Linked DNA regions of Homo sapiens: region 1 is linked to region 2. Evidence: promoter capture Hi-C in human tissues and cell types (Jung and others, 2019). All regions are on one chromosome and are shown on one strand. Each heading gives the region's core, a stretch centred on a gene start or on the middle of the fragment in contact. The rest is flanking DNA. Distances are from core to core; before and after follow the strand shown. Region 1 holds the start of FES (FES proto-oncogene, tyrosine kinase). Region 2 holds the start of BLM (BLM RecQ like helicase).

Region 1 (3,094 bases), core at 149-2,648, 170 kb before region 2:
CTCAGAACCCAGAGCCAGATGGCACAGTGTGGAGGCGAGTACCGATTCTGAGCTTCTCCCAGGCACGTGACCGGTCACTCATCCTTACACTCCCAGCACTTTGCCCAGGCACAGAAAAAGCACAGAGAGGCCTTGCTGCAAGCCAGCTCAACGTAGGGGAAGGAAGAGAGGAAGCTGCATCAAGGTTAGAGCAAGCCAGGCCTGCGGTCAGGGACTTACACTTCCCCAGTGAATCCAGGGCCTCTTGTGCAAAACAACCCCTTCGAGGCTCAAAATTTAGACAGAAATGACCGAAGCCCCAGTGCTGCCCGCTCACCTTGGTGAGCTCCTGCTGCAGCTGCTGCCACTGCTCGCTGTAGGTCTTGCGAAGCTGCTGCCGTTCCCGGATGAGCAGGCTCAGCTTGCTCAGGGGCCCTGAGTTCAGATCCTCTGCGTGCTGCCGCAGCAAGCGGCTCAGGCCCTCAGTTTGGCTGGTGATCTCAGCCCAGGACTATACAGCACAGATGGGGGAGGCAGGGAGGGGGGCACAATGGCTCCCAAGCATTGGCCTGCCAGATCTCCAGCCACTGCCCCAGAGGGCCCCCAGGAGAGGAAGGAGAAGGCAGATACAGCCAGCACCCACCAGAGTCCCATAGAGACCCACCTGACTGATGGGGCTGTCAGGGCTGATGGCCCGGCTCTGGCCCCCACTGTCCTGCAGGGACATGTGGTGAAGCAGTCCTGCATACTCCCTGTCACTCTTGACCCGCTGGGCCATCCACTTTCTCATGCCCTCCAGTAGACGAAGCTCGGCCTCCTGCATTTGCTGCAGGACCCCGTGGCCCTGGGGGCTGCACAGCTCGGAAGAGAAGCCCATAGTGCTGTTCTGGGGACAGAAAAGGGGCCATCCCTGGAGGCAAGGCAGCAGCTGGAGACGGAGGCATGGGACGAGGAGACTGGGGACTGTAGGGTCAGGATGGACTGCAGACGGGGAGGAGGTGGGGTCCTGCCTCGCTCACACGCAGCCATGGGTACCCAGCAGCAGCCTGGCCTGGGGACTGGCCCTCATTGCTTCCTTAGCGTCAGGGTCTCCTCCGCACGTTCGGGAACAGGAGCCAACCTGGAGCCTCCCTCCCCAGGCCCTTCCACCCACCACCCCTTACAGGGACACCCTTGCCCAGGTCCTCGACAGGCCAAGCCTGCCCCAGCTGAAGCCTCAGGCGCCCACAGCCTGAGCCCTGCCCCTGCGGCCATCCCCGCCCTTCCGCGGCCCCTACCCCCACCTGGGTGGGTCTCTGGCCCTCGGAACGCCTGCTCTGCCCCTGCCTGCCGCGCCCCCAGCTCCCACCGCTCCTCCAGGCCCCGGGGCTAGAGGTACCCGCACGGGCAGCTGCTCCTGGGACGGCCTCGGACCGACTCAGGCCCGGTGCGGACCCCGGCCAGTTCCTGATTCCGCGCTTCCTCCTCCCGCGGTTTCAGTTGGCCCAGGCCCCGGGGCGGGCCTGTGGAGGGGAAGGGGCGGGCGGGACCGGCCCGACCGCCCCGACGCCTGCCAGCCCCCCTGCTCCGCGCTGGGCCGCAGCCTCTAGCCGGCCGCACGGCCACGGAAACGGAAGGGAGGAGGGGGCCGGGAAAGAATGGCCCAGCCAAGAGCCGCCCGCGCCCCGCAGGCCCCAGGGCCCGGCAGCGCCCCGGGAACACCGGGAAGGGGCGCAAGGTGGGGGTCAGGAGGGGGAGCCCAGGGCGAGGCCCCAGGCAGATGCTGGGCCCAGGGAAGCCCAGGGTGTCCGCGGGTACTGAGGGGAGGCGCGCAGTCCTAGCACCAGGCCAGGGCCACCGCAGAAGAGAAAGAGGGAACCCTGGTCCCAGCCCTCCCCACCTCACGGAATTCCCTAAGGAGAGGCTCAGGCGCCAGCTTCCATTTGAATAAAATTTCCAAGTAAATATCCCGAACAGAGACTGCTTCTCGGATACAGATCCTAGTGGTTTTGTCCCCATCCTCCTACCCCCAGGCAGGGGCTTCCTGTCCCAAGGGAGACCTGGGGAAATCAAGGGGCAGGGGTTGGGGAGCGGACAGGCGTGGAGTTTTCCATTTGGGACTCAGGCTCCCCACAAGAAGTCATCTTGATTCAGTCAGGCCTCCCTCCACCTTAGGCCTCAGCCCTATAGCCTGTGGCGACCAGATCACTTCAGCCCAGGAAGACACAATAGGCCCAGTTCTTCACACTGCTGGAAACCAGGACTTTGGGAGTTTAGTGCTCAGCTCCTGAGGACCAGGGGTCACCAGCCCCACCCCAGGGGCACCAGCTCCTCCACTAGGGGCTGGCGCATCCTCCCGCCCCTTGGAGGACTTTGGCCTTCTGACTTGGGCCCACATCCAGGCAGGCAGGCCACTGTGTAGGCCTAACTGGCCCCCTATCCTCAGCTGCGATGCAGGAGCAACGGTACCACACTGGAGACTGGGCCTGGTTTGCATAGTCTGCACGTTTAATCACTTTAAAACCTCTAACATTATCTCATGTCCATTAAATAGAACCAGCAATGCTGGGCCTGTTTAAATTACAAGAAAAAAATCACTGTGCACCAACCCAGCATCTTACAAAACCAGCCGGGCTGGCCACGAGGGCAGGGGGATGGGAGAGGAGGGGGCACCCCTGGGCAGATGGCTGGGTACCAGGAATGGCTAGGGTAGAAAAGAAAAGGGGACTCCCAGATGGGAGGGGACTGATTGTCCTAATGGGAGGGGTGCAAAAGGCACGTCAGAAGAGGAGGTTTGAGGGGGGCATGACAGGTCAGTGCTTTCTCCACCAGGGCACAGTGTTGGGGGGGCTCAGTGCCACCACCTGCCCACCTCTGGCACTTGGAGAGCCAGTGACCTATGAACCCCCGGCATGGCGAGCCCCACTTGAAACACAGATGTCAGCCTGCCCCTCCCACTGGGACCCCCTTTCCTTGAGCCCGCCTGGCTGGCCCGCCTCTTCAGGACTTGGGGCTCAACTATTCCTCACTCCTCAGCAACATGCTGCAGCCCCCACACCTCAGGGCCAGGGCAGCCAGGGAGGAGCAGGGCGGACGGTGGGTGTGAGAACGTGGGTAGTCCAGCTGCTACCCCCAT
Region 2 (2,787 bases), core at 122-2,621:
CTATACTTATAAGGTACCTGTCATGGTGAGTGGCATTGAAAGTGACACAGGACCCAGAAATTTCATTTCTTCCCAGTAGATTATAAGCTACTGTCTGACAGTATAAGCAGCCCAGCTAACAAAATGTTGATTTAATTAATTCTATTTACTATTCCCCAAACAGAATACTTTTGCCTACCCGCTTCTTCATCTTCTGATCTCTCATGCAGTCTCTCGAATTCCTGTCCCTTAATCTTGACAGTGACACACCAGTGTTATTTATCTGCATGGGTGGCACAAGGAGCTGTCAGTCACCTGCTCCATCTCACGCCATGAGGTACCTAAAGTTCTGTGTGACCTAAGGACAGGTGAGGGCTATAGGAGAAAGCCTAATGTTGTGGGACATACTTTAAAATCAGGCGCTTAGTTCAAATCCTGTATCTCTAGCACTTAATCACCAAATGCTCTTTCTGTACGGAGACAACCTCTTTGTACTTCAGATTCTCCATGTCTAAAATGGGGACAATTTCATCCGCTTCTCTGGGTAATGATAACAGAACCCTTACTGTGTACTATGTAACAGGTAGCCTTCGAAGCATTTATTATTGCATATATTAAGTCGTTTAATCCTAACAAAAACGCCAGGAAGTAGAAGAGACCATTTCCCCCATATGACAGACGAAAACCAAGACACTTAGTGTTTCAGTAACGTGCAGTAGACACAGAGCTAAATGTGAAGGAGCCAGAATTCGAACCCAAGCAATCTGATGCAGTATTCTTAAGCACTTCGCTTTGCTGGGATATCGTAAAGCTACAGTTGTAAGATCAAGGGTGCCAGGAACATGGCACACAGTAGACACTCAAAAACAAGAGTAGCCCAGCTCGTGATTATGGAAGGCCACAGAAAAAGTACAAAGTGTTTTCGTTGTTCCTCAGGAGGGACACGGAGGTAGTAGTGCCAGAGGTCTGGGCTGGGATTACTCTGTGCAGGGCATCATGTTACGCACTGGAGTATATGGGCAACAACATGCCAGGTCCTAGCCCATGCTCGGCCTCCGACGCCCCGGGAGACCTTGGCAGAGTTCGCCCCCGCCCCGGGCCTCTGTTTCCCCATTTGGGAACGTATTTATGTATCTGCTGTCCTCCCAGGATGTTGGCCAGACTAGAGGACTCAGCGGGCCGAGGCGAACCAGTGCAGGAAACGGAAGAACCCGAGCGGCCTCCAGCTCCGGGCCGGGCCGCCAGAGCAGGGCTAGATCAATGCGGACCGACCCGTAGTTACGCGCGCGGTACTCACCTCGCACGCAGACTCCTAGCGGACGGAACCAGGATCCAAACTTCCCGCGCCGCAACCACGGCCGCCGCGCCAAGCCCTGGCTCACTTCCCGCCGGAAGCTTGCCTATTCCGATTGGCTGCTTCCTGGGGAAGCCGACCAATACTGTCGCACTCGGACATCTGTTCCCGCCCCCTCAGGCTGCTGGGGCGGGGTCGCCGTACAGCGCCGGGAGGGACGCGTATCTCCAAAGCCCAATCAGAGTCCGGACGGGAGGGTCAGATGACTACGGTTACATCTCGGGCTTCCGGAGCTAGTTGGGTCTTTGTTTTTGGTGTTTTAGAGTCGGTGAAGGCTTTAAAGGAAGTAGGCAGCTGGAACCCGGCTGTGGCGGGTTGAAAAGCCCGGGCGTTTGAGAGCTGAGACTTGCCAGTTCCCACAGGCCAAGCCAGGCGTCTGCACCCCATTCTCTTGGTTCCGACGGTGTGTCTCTGCGATGTTTTGGCGGTCTCTCCTCTCCATCCCCTTAATAATACTGGTCTCTGTTTCACCCGTACCCCTCTACACGAGCAGGTGCAAATTGTCATTGAACCGGGAAAGTGGGCACACACTCAGATGCCTCCATGGACACGTGAGAAACCATGCTTCTGTTTCAGCCTATTGCTGACACGCGGGAATGTGGGCCCTGTGATGCCAGATCTTACTTTCTTTCCTTTCTTCCTCTCTTCTCCCCTCTCTACTTCCTTCCCTCTCTCCTTCCCTCCCGCCCTCCCTCCTCTTTGTGTGTGTGATAAAATCTATCTAACATAAAATTCACCATTTTTAAGTGTACAGTTCACTGGCATTAAGTACATTCACATTGTTGTGAAACCATCACCACTATCCATCTCCAGAACTTTTTCATTATCCCAAATAGAAAATCTGCCTGTTACACAGTAACTCCCCGTTACCCGTTTCTCACAACCCCTTATAGCCGATATTGCACTTTCTGTCTGTAAGTGCGAGGTACCGCATATAAATTGAATCATACAATAATTGCTCTTTTCTGATTGGCTTATTTCACTTAGCATAATGTCTTCAAGGAGCATCTATGTTGTAGCATGTATCAGAATTTCTTCCTTCTTGAGGCTAAATAATATTCCATTATACATGTATACTACATTTTGTTTATCCATTCATCCATATAAATGGATGCTTGGTTATTCCCACCTTTTGGCTATTGTGAATAATGCTGCTATGAACTTTGGTATACAAATAATCATTCTCCACATAATACGCAGAAAGAGTTTTCTAAAATGTAAAAATCTGTTCAAGTTACCTCCCTCCTGAAAATCTTCTATGGTAAATTGAAACCAAAATATGATACTATTAAACACTCCATAGAATAGCTGAAATGAAAAGACTGACAATTCCCTTAGTTGCAAAGATGCAGAAATGGGACTCTCATACAGTGTTGATGGGAGTGTAAAATGGTACAACCACTTTGGAAACATCAGTCTCTACTGAAATCAAATTTACCCCTACCCTATACCCC

Evidence for each region. The method cuts DNA at HindIII sites, captures the fragments that hold promoters and counts their contacts. A contact is called where the count stands out against the background at its distance.
Region 1: a contact is called between the fragment with the promoter of FES here and the fragment with the promoter of BLM in region 2, in 2 of the 25 tissues and cell types used here (spleen and stomach).

What each region holds. Positions count from the first base shown.
Region 1 is chr15:90,882,808-90,885,901 of GRCh38, reverse strand. It overlaps FES (FES proto-oncogene, tyrosine kinase), which reads right to left and starts at 1,398. Exons shown (of 19, transcript NM_002005.4): 1 at 1,358-1,398; 2 at 644-865; 3 at 317-490. The coding sequence starts at 856. FURIN (furin, paired basic amino acid cleaving enzyme) reads right to left here. Exons shown (of 16, transcript NM_002569.4): 16 at 2,445-3,094. RefSeq lists enhancers at 253-682, 2,220-2,349 and a silencer at 1,313-1,822. The HindIII fragment of the contact is 25,407 bases long and covers 1-3,094 here.
Region 2 is chr15:90,715,930-90,718,716 of GRCh38, reverse strand. BLM (BLM RecQ like helicase) reads right to left here and starts at 1,371. Exons shown (of 22, transcript NM_000057.4): 1 at 1,277-1,371. CRTC3-AS1 (CRTC3 antisense RNA 1) reads left to right here and starts at 1,577. Exons shown (of 4, transcript NR_120372.1): 1 at 1,577-1,736. The HindIII fragment of the contact is 5,728 bases long and covers 20-2,787 here.